Linked DNA regions of Homo sapiens: regions 1 and 2 are each linked to region 3. Evidence: promoter capture Hi-C in 16 types of primary human blood cells and fetal thymus (Javierre and others, 2016). All regions are on one chromosome and are shown on one strand. Each heading gives the region's core, a stretch centred on a gene start or on the middle of the fragment in contact. The rest is flanking DNA. Distances are from core to core; before and after follow the strand shown.

The links. The method cuts DNA at HindIII sites, captures the fragments that hold promoters and counts their contacts. A CHiCAGO score of 5 or more calls a contact.
Region 1: a contact is called between a fragment that was not itself captured here and the fragment with the promoter of SLC67A1 in region 3, in 3 of 17 cell types (M0 macrophages, naive B cells and non-activated CD4 T cells). The highest score is 6.9, in M0 macrophages.
Region 2: a fragment that was not itself captured here is called in contact with the fragment with the promoter of SLC67A1 in region 3 in 2 of 17 cell types (total B cells and naive B cells); the score reaches 5.8 in total B cells.

Annotation. Positions count from the first base shown.
Region 1 is chr11:2,365,155-2,368,223 of GRCh38, reverse strand. The region is part of intron 1 of CD81-AS1 (CD81 antisense RNA 1); the gene reads left to right. Among named protein-coding and RNA genes, the nearest start is that of CD81, 11 kb to the left of the region's middle. The HindIII fragment of the contact is 225 bases long and covers 1,224-1,448 here.
Region 2 is chr11:2,328,603-2,331,647 of GRCh38, reverse strand. It overlaps CD81-AS1 (CD81 antisense RNA 1), which reads left to right. Exons shown (of 3, transcript NR_108080.1): 2 at 1,874-2,085; 3 at 2,345-2,899. Among named protein-coding and RNA genes, the nearest start is that of TSPAN32, 28 kb to the right of the region's middle. RefSeq lists an enhancer at 2,568-3,045. The HindIII fragment of the contact is 2,399 bases long and covers 351-2,749 here.
Region 3 is chr11:2,900,995-2,903,718 of GRCh38, reverse strand. It overlaps SLC67A1 (solute carrier family 67 member 1), which reads right to left and starts at 1,441. Exons shown (of 11, transcript NM_002555.6): 1 at 1,355-1,441; 2 at 230-505. The coding sequence starts at 373. It overlaps SLC67A1-AS (SLC67A1 antisense RNA), which reads left to right and starts at 144. Exons shown (of 3, transcript NR_169305.1): 1 at 144-260; 2 at 1,010-1,135. RefSeq lists an enhancer at 1-254 and a silencer at 1,180-1,309. The HindIII fragment of the contact is 10,715 bases long and covers 1-2,724 here.

The sequences.
Region 1 (3,069 bases), core at 87-2,586, 540 kb after region 3:
GAAAGCAGCTTGTTAGGACCCTGTTCCCTGAGGAGGGATGGGTGAGGCTGTTGGGGTGAGGCTGTCTGTCAGCCGTGACCAGAGCTGGCTGAGCTACCCTAGGCTTCATGTCCCCAGGTGCAGCATAGCCATGGGACGCCCAGGGGCCTCTGATCCCCTTCCTACAAGCTGTGTGTAGTTTAAAGGGGCTGGGAGTGCAGAAGAGGACGCGGGCCTGCTTTTCCACACTGGCTCCGTTCCCTTCGTGCGGGTGCCAGCCAGGCCCGGCCTTTTCTGGCCAGGGTCACCGTGTCCTGGACCCAGCCCTGACCCCTCCATTCCCTACCGTGTTGTCACCATCCCCTGTGAGGAGGGACCCCTGAGGCCTCTTTCTCCCGCTCTAGAGGCTCTTCCGGACCCCTGATCCTCACAGCCTGGGCCTCCCCAGAGGCTTCTGGGGCCACTGGTTCCCCGTACAAGCTGATACCAGCCGTTAATGACATTGCCTTGTTTACTTCAGCATGAGCTGGGCCACAGAGGGGAAGCTGTGTTGCTGAAGGGGACTCTGAAGATTACCATTGGAGGGGCTGCCTGGCTGAGACCTGAATAAGTGAGCAGTGCCCAAGAACAGAAAGGGGAGGTTGTCAGATGCTGGCCAGCACTGCCTAGCCCCAACCTGCAGACACAGATAGGGCGGAGGGGTCACCCAACCCAGGAAGGGGAGCTCATCTATGGAGGGGAGCCCCCCTGGAGTAGGGACCCCATCAGAGGACCCCGTCAGCAGAGGGGAGCCCACCCGGAGAGGGGACCCTATCAACAGAGAGGAGACCTAGCTGGAGAGGGGACCCTGTCAGCAGAGAGCAGCCTCACCTGGAGAAGGGACTTCATCAGCCAAGGGAGCCCCAGATGGAAAGGAGACCCTGTCAGTGGAGAGGAGCCCCAGCTGAAGAGGGGACCCCATCAGTGGAGGGAGCCCAAGCTGAAGAGGGGACCACATCAGTGGAGGGAGCCCCAGCTGGAGAGGGGACCCCATCAGTGGAGAGAGCCACAGCTGTAGAGGGAACCCCATCAGTGGAGGGAGCCCCAGCTGGAGAGGGGACCCCATCAGCAGAGGGAAGCCACAGCTGGAGAGGGGAACCCATCAGCAGAGGGGAGCCCACAGGGGTATCCAGAGGGAAGGCCAGGTTGGGTATCCTGGGAGTGGGAAGTTGGGTCAGAGGTGAGGCTTTTGCAGCGAGCAAGCTTGTTTCAGGTTGGGAGTGCCCAGCGGGCAGTGGGGGTTGGTGGACGCAGCAGGGAGGAAGTTCCAGGGTCTTTGACAGCGGCTGCTCCCCACTGCAGAGCTGACAATCTCTTGAGGACTCCAAGAATGAACGGATGGCCAAGCCTGGGCCTCCAGTGGGAACAGCGCCACCGTGGAAGAGGAGGGAGGTTGTCCTCATGTAGGGGGCAGGCTGGAGAGACAAGCTTGGGGTGGATGATGGTTTGCTTCTTAGGTGAAGGAAAATGAAGAGCCACCTGCAGCCATCGCTCTGCTCTCCAAATCAATCCTGAATAACTGGGAGAGAAAAACTTAAAAATGAGACCAGTGAATGGAATGGGAGGTGGGATGGGGATGTGGCAGAAGAGGGGGCCGCCCCACTCCTGTTGGACGTGGGGGCACTGGGAGCCACATGCATGCCAGGGACGCCCAGCCCCTGGCCCTGGGCCAGCCTCACTGGCAGTGGCTGGGGACAGTGGGTCTCTGTGCCTCCTCCTCGTCTCTGCGGTCCCTGGCTGGGTGCCCACCCTCTCCCTCATCTCGCCGTCTGCCTTCCTTTCATTTCTTTTTGGCATGGTTCTCTCACTGTCCAGGAAGGAACTTGGCGTCTTGCACCCCAGGCGGGCAGAGCCAGGAGCCCAGCTGACCCAGAAGGGCTCGGGTGGAGTGGGTGGGTGGTGGGAAAGCAGCTGGAGCCCCCGAATGCAGAGCCTGCCCCGTCTGCCGTGCCTGGAGGGCACCCCTCACTCCTCAGGCTCTCCAGAAGGTCAGCTATGGGGGCAGGGTCTGGGCCCATTCTGGACCCTGCTGTATCCCAGGGACCATTTAAATGGGGGCCTGGCACAGACTAGGGGTTCAGTTGTTAAATGAATAAGCAAAGCTCAAAGCCCCCTATGTTCCTTGCCTGAGCCAAGAAGGAAGCCTGGGCCTGGCTTCTGAGTCCACCCACCCTCCTTGTGAGGTAGGAAGGCAGTGGCATTGCATAACTGACCACCTACAGGACCGGGCCACGCCGAGAGGGAGCAGGCGCCTTGATGCTCCTAGATCGTCGGCCAGACTCCCCCTCCCCAGTCCTTGGAGCCTCCTTGCTTCTTCAACCCCTGTCAGAGTCCGTGGGGCAAGGTGAGACTGGGAACACTGTCTCCTCCCCCAGACGTGGCTGATCTCAGCCTGGAGCCCCACCCCAGGGCTGCACAGGACCAGGGTCCAGATCATCAGCCCAGGATGCACGGTGGACTATGTGTGCCCAGCACTCGTGCACCGAGAGACCCGTCTTGTTTCCCATGAGCCCCTCGGTGCTGGGTGCCGGGTGAGAGCATAGCCCTGGTGATCCTGGTGGTCTTCTCCAGACTCTGATGTTTCCTTCCAGTCTCCCGGCCCTCCCCTCAATGTGCAGTGTGTGCGGGTTGAGGGGGCTGCTGTGGTCTGAATGTGTCCCCCATCTCTGTAATCATGATGGACTAACATCATTGTCGTGGGAGCGGGCTCTGACAGAAGGATGAGTTTGGTCCCCTTCTCTCTGGCTGTCTCTCTCTCCCTCTCTTTGCCCTTCTGTCATGGGATAAGGCAGCACAAAGACCCTTGCCAGAGGTGGCCTGTCGATCTCGGACCTCCCAGCCTCTAGGACCAGGGGCCAATAAGTTAGCCAGTCTGTGGTTTTCTGTTCTAACAGCACACGATGGACTAAGACCACAGGCCAAGTCTCCCCAGTGTATCACCATTAGGCCACACCCTGATACGGTTTGGATCTGTGTACCTGCCTAAATCTCATGTTGAATTGTAATCCCCAATGCTGGAGGTGGGGCCTGCTGGAGGTGATTGGCTCATGG
Region 2 (3,045 bases), core at 301-2,800, 570 kb after region 3:
CAAGCCTGCATGTATACATCCAGATGGCCTGAAGCAACTGAAGAACCACAAAAGAAGTGAAAGTAGACAGTTGCTGCCTTAACTGATGACATTCCACCATGGTGATTTGTTCCTGCCCCACCCTAACTAATCAATTGACCTTGTGAAATTCCTTCTCCTGGTCAATGAGTATCAGAAGGTCCCCACCGAGCACTTTGTAACCCCCCCGCCCCTGCCCACAAAAGAAAAACCCCCTTTAACTGTAATTTTCCACTACCTACCCAAATCCTATAAAACTGCCCCACCCCTATCTCCCTTTGCTGACTCCTTTTTTGGACCCAGTCTGCCTGCACCCAGGTGATTAAAAAGCTTCATTGCTCACACAAAACCTATTTGGTGGTCTCTTCACACAGAGGCGCGTGACAAATAAGAGGGAAGTCCTCTTACCTGGGTGAGCTGGGACATTGGTTTTTTCCTGTCTTCAAACTCAAACTGAAACATTGGCTCTCCTTGGGTCTTGAGCCTGCTGCCTTTCAGACGGGAGCTTACACCATCAGTCCTCCTGGGTCTCCAAGGTTCCCAACTACGGATCTTGGGACTGCTCAGCCTCTGTAATTGTGTGAGCCAAGTCCTTACAATAATCTCTCTCTGTGTGTATGTACACATCTTACTGACTCGGTTTCTCTGGAGAACCCTGACTGTTACTCAGCATCCTTGGACTTGTTCGAGTCTGACGTTGGCATGGGAGTTGGTTCCGGGGGAATTTACCTGCATGCTTGGAGCTGGATGTGCAGGGTTTAGACAAGACCACCTCATGTACATCTTCTCCAGCCCAATTCCTGTGTCCATCCCAGCTGGGACAAGCAACCCCACACCACGGCCCCTAGGCCCCTGACCTCCCCTGTCCAGTGAACTTCATCTGCCCCACTGTGCCCATCACCATCCCTGGGGTCTCTTTAATTTTGGGTTGCTTCCTCTCTGAGATTTAAAGTCCAAACCTTGCACCCCTTCCACACCTCCAGGCCCTGTGTGTTTGCTTTGCCCACCTGCTTTGCTGGGAGTGCTCTACGCAGCCGTACTGCATGCTTTCCTCACTGCACTTCTTTGCCTGCACAGCTGGGAACACCTGGTCCTTCACTTTAATCACACCCTTGCCAGTATCCTGAACTCCTATATAGTTGGAACAGCCTTTATTTATTTATTTATTTTGAGATGGAATCTGGCTCTGTCGCCCAGGCGGGAGCGTAGTGGTACGATCTCGGCTCACTGCAACCTCCACCTCCTGGGTTCAAGCAATTCTCCTGCCTCGGCCTCCTGAGTAGCTAGGACTATAGGCATGCACCACCACACCTGGCTAATTTTTGTATTTTTAATAGAGATGGGGTTTCATCATGTTGGCCAGGCTTGTCTCCAACTCCTGACTTCAAGTGATCCACCCGCCTCGATCCCCCTGTGTGCCCTTTCATTTTCTGCCATGTGAGGACACGGCAAGAAGGTCCTCTCAAGTAATCCCAAAGTGCTGGGATTACAGACATGAGCCACTGTGCCTGGCCAGGAACAGCCTTCAGATTGCCCTGGAGAGCTTTTTAGACGCAGATTGCTAGGCTCCACCCCAGCATCCTTAATTTGGGAGGCCTGGGCAGGGCCTGAGAATCTGCATTTCTACCGCATTCCCGGGTGATGCAGCTGGTCCAGGAACCATGCTTTGAAAGTAGGCTACGTTGCAGTTAACAAATACCCCCTGAGGTCTCGGGGTTATTTTTCACTTGCATATGGTGGTCAAGTGACTCTTCATCTTTGAGCTGACTTTGGGAACGTGTGTCCTGTAAGGTCACCTTGGAAAGGGAAGGGCGATTGGGAAGTAGCTTACGTTGCTTCCTCCCATATCCCACAGGTCAGAACTCGGTCACATGACCCTCATGCAACCACACTAACCATAGAGGTGACTGGGAAATGCAGTCTTTCCATTTGCCTAGGAGGAAGAAACAGTGTGGTGAACACATGGTATCGTCTGTTCCGCCATCCACCCCTCTGTTGACCTGCCAAAGTCCACCCAGTCACTACACCCTCTCCAGACCCAGCATCTCCGATGGATGAGCACATCAGGTTTGGATATGCCCTCTCTTGGTCCAGCACCCTATGAATTTAAACATTGAGTTATCTGTCCCCCTATGCTAGATTGTATCTGTGACCCCAGTCTCTCGCCCTTTCCTGTGCCCGAGGCCAGCCACGACTTGCTGTCTTGGGAATGCACCCAGCCAAGATCAGTCAAGCAGAGCCCAGACACATAAGCAGGAAAAGCTGACTGTTGTGCACCACGGAGACTGTGTAGATACGTGTTAATTTGCGTTTCTTCTTATGGCAGCACCCTCCTTCACAGAGCCTGCTTCTGTATTAGTCAGGACAGGCCAGGCTGTATTGTGGTAGCAGTCGGAACCCCCAAACCCAGCTGCTGCCAAGAGAGCAGGCACCGGGGGCCCGAGTGATGGGGACTTGGTGGAGCTGGAGCAGCAAACTTGCTAAAATCACTCCTGGTGACCTGGCAGGCTGAATACAAGAAGGCTCAGCCAGGAGCATAAGGGGCGAAGTGGGAAAACACCACATTGCGAGTTTTGTGTTAGGTCCCGCAACACGAGACGGAGACCAGCTTGAGAAAGAAGGCCCAGCTTACAAGCAGAGATGAAAGTGAACAGAGAGATGGATCCAGAAATTCAGAGCACCGCAAGGGCAGAAAAACCAACTGCTCCAAGAGTTAGGATTTTAACAAGCTTTGGGAGACAAAGGCCCAATAAAATGCCTGACTTGGACCGATCAACAGAAGACAAAGATGGGATTAAGGCCCATTCAAGTCTGAGAGCCTTCTGACAGCTGCCATTGAGTTGATGGAGAGGAATGAGAGCAAATACATCCTGAAACTTCAGTTTTCTGTGTGCATTAGTCATGGCTTACTGTGGTCTGAATATTTGTGTCCCTCCAAAATTCATGTTGAAAAGTCCCCAACGCAACGGTAGTGAGAGGTGGGGCCTTTGGAAGGCGATGAGGCCGTGGGGGCTCCGCCCTCCTGGG
Region 3 (2,724 bases), core at 192-2,691:
TGGCTTCTCCCGGGGCTGGCACTGAAGCTGGAGCACAGGATGTGCTGACGGGGGTCCAGAGGCAGAGTCCTTAACTTACTCAGCTTAAGCGTGGCATGAGTCCCAACTGGGAGGGGCCCTGGCAGCATGAAACCCCCACCCCCACTCTCTGCGACGGCCCAGATGGAGGGCAGGAGGAACAGCGGTTCAGCCCTGGCTGGGGCTGCAGGGGCTGGGGTGTGTTACTCACTGGCACGATGGAGAACTGCATGAAGAGGCAGGTAAGTTCTGTGGCGGCCAGCACGTAGGTAAGCAAGATGACCGAGGACCGGCCTAGAGCGCTCATCCTGCCGGGGGACCGGCCCTGGTCCCTGGGAGCCCGAGCTCCCTGCATCCTGGACAGGCGCAGCAGGGAGACCCAGGAGAGATCCAAGCAGGAGGCTGGCGGAGCAGGGGGCAAAAGTCCAGTTGATCCGGGCAGGGGTGCTGAGTCACTGGGTCCCAGGCAGCACCCGCCTGGCCTTGCCTGCAAGAGAGGACAGCACTGCAGGACCCCCTCCCCAGTGGAGCTCTCCTGCTACCTGGACCTTAGAGGACACATCAGGGGGTCCCCCTCCTCCACTTTTGACAGCTCTGGTCTCCAGGCACACAGCCTCCCGGGGAGGGGAGACAGGGACAAGCTGCTCCCCCCGACCCCTGCAGGTGGGCCAGGCTCAGTGCCTGGTTGCCTGACACAGGAATGTGCCATGCCCCACTTTTAGAGGGAGGCAGAGGCTCGGAGTGGTGGCTGAGTCCACCTCAAATCATCAGCGCCTTCTGTGGCCAGAGGGCTGATGTGGGTCCCTGTGCCTGGAGGCCCTCCGTAGGCCCACAGTGGCCCTGTCCCCAACACAGTGCAGCTCTCAGGGAAGGTCTACCTTCCCCTGTGGCCAGCAGCCAGAGCTCCAAGGGGCTTCTGGAATGGTCTTGCGTAGGGGAGACATAGCTCAGCCTTCCAGGCTCCCCAGTAGCTCTGCCTTACCTCCCACAGCGGAGTGCTGTCTGTCCCCACCCTTCCCCGCCCGGCCTCCAACTGGTGGGAACTGGATTTTGCGGCTGCAGAGGACTTCCCCAAATTTTGCCACATTAACAGCTGACTGCACATCTGAGCCCCGAGGTACCGAACCCAGGCTGGTGGGGTAGGGCGGGGAGACCCCTGAGGGTCCGGGAGCTGCGCCTGGCGCCCTCCCCCATCCCGGGATGCAGGGAGGCTGGGGGGAGCAGGGCAGCCGCAGCAGGCACGTCAGGGGCACCTCATTGGGCAGAGGTGCGACGCTGCGCCGGAGTTCGGGGTTCGGGGCTCAGAGGCCGCCCTCTCCGGAGTGTGCTCGAGTACCTGCCTTTGCAGGGGCGGGCTTGGGCACGGGTGCCGGTGGGGTGAGCGCTCCAGGGTGACCTAGACACCGGTCCTTCCGGGATGAGCCCCGGCCCCGCCCTTTCGGGAGATGACTTGCAACAGGGACCGCCCCTCTGGGTCTGAGTTCCAGCCCTCGCGCTTTGCAATCGCCAGTTCCGGGAGCGCCCGTGCCACGGTTTCTGCGCTCTCACTGGCCGAGCCCGCCCCTCCCCTCGAAGGACCCGCCCCTGCCCCGCCCACCAGCGGGCTCGCCCCGTGCCCGGCTTCGCCCGCCCCAGCCCCCTCCAGCTTGAATCCTGCCCGGTGCCCGGGCTGCTGGAGGTGGACACTCTGACCCTCAGGCAGCACCGGTGTCCACTTTGGGCCTGAGGAGGGGCAGTGTGGGCAGGGGATGGGACCGGGAGGTGGAGGGAAGGAGAGAATGGAGGGGAGGCAGGGGCGGGGAGAGAAAAGCGGAGGAATGGTGGTGAGGGGTTAGGGGAAGAAGTCAGGGGAGGTTGTAGAGGGTGTGGTGTAGCCTGGCCCTGCCAAAGGTCTGCACAGAGCCCCAGAAGAGTGACCAGGAGACAGCTCTGGGCCCCTCCTCACTTCCCTCCCCAGACCCGGAGGCTGCTAGGAGCAGTTGAGAGCCCACTTTTCCCCATTTCACCCTGCCTGCCACTTCCCCACCCTTGCAGGGGCCACCAGAGATGCCAGCACACAGGTAAACAAGCCTCATGCCGCCCTCCGCAGCAGGAGCCGCTGGAGCACACACACCCCACGCTGCGCACACTTGGCCCAAGCCCTGCCCTTGGCCTGGGCACCATTCTCCGTGCCCCTGACTGTCACTAAGTAGGGAGATGCTCATTCAGGACTCCTGCCCCACCTCCTCCCCAGGCAAGGGCTGGGCACAGGCTCAAATGTCAAAACCAGTGTCCCCCTGCCATGTGTCAATCATCGCTCCACAGAGCAGAAAACTGCAGGGGTGAGACAGGGTGGGACGGACATCGCAGAGGCGAGCGAGAGCCGGCCAAAGTCCTGGTGGGCAGGGGGGCCAGAGCCAGGTGGCCCAAGGCCGGCTGGCTAAGCCATTCCAAGTCACCGTGGGAGTGGTTCAGCAGCTACCCTTCGTTCAGCAGCTCAGATATGTTGGGCATCAGAAAACAATACCCCAAAATGAAGGCCTCAGAAGCAGCTTCGGAAGAAAAAGTGTTTCTCTGACCTTCTCTTGCTCTCCTGTCTCTCAGTGCCATTTTCCCCGAAGCTGGCCTTAGAAACTGGAATCCATTTTCCCCAGGGCAGGTCATAGAAATCAGAACCCCGCCTTTCCACACAGCCAGACATCAAACCTAAAAATATTGCTCTAACTT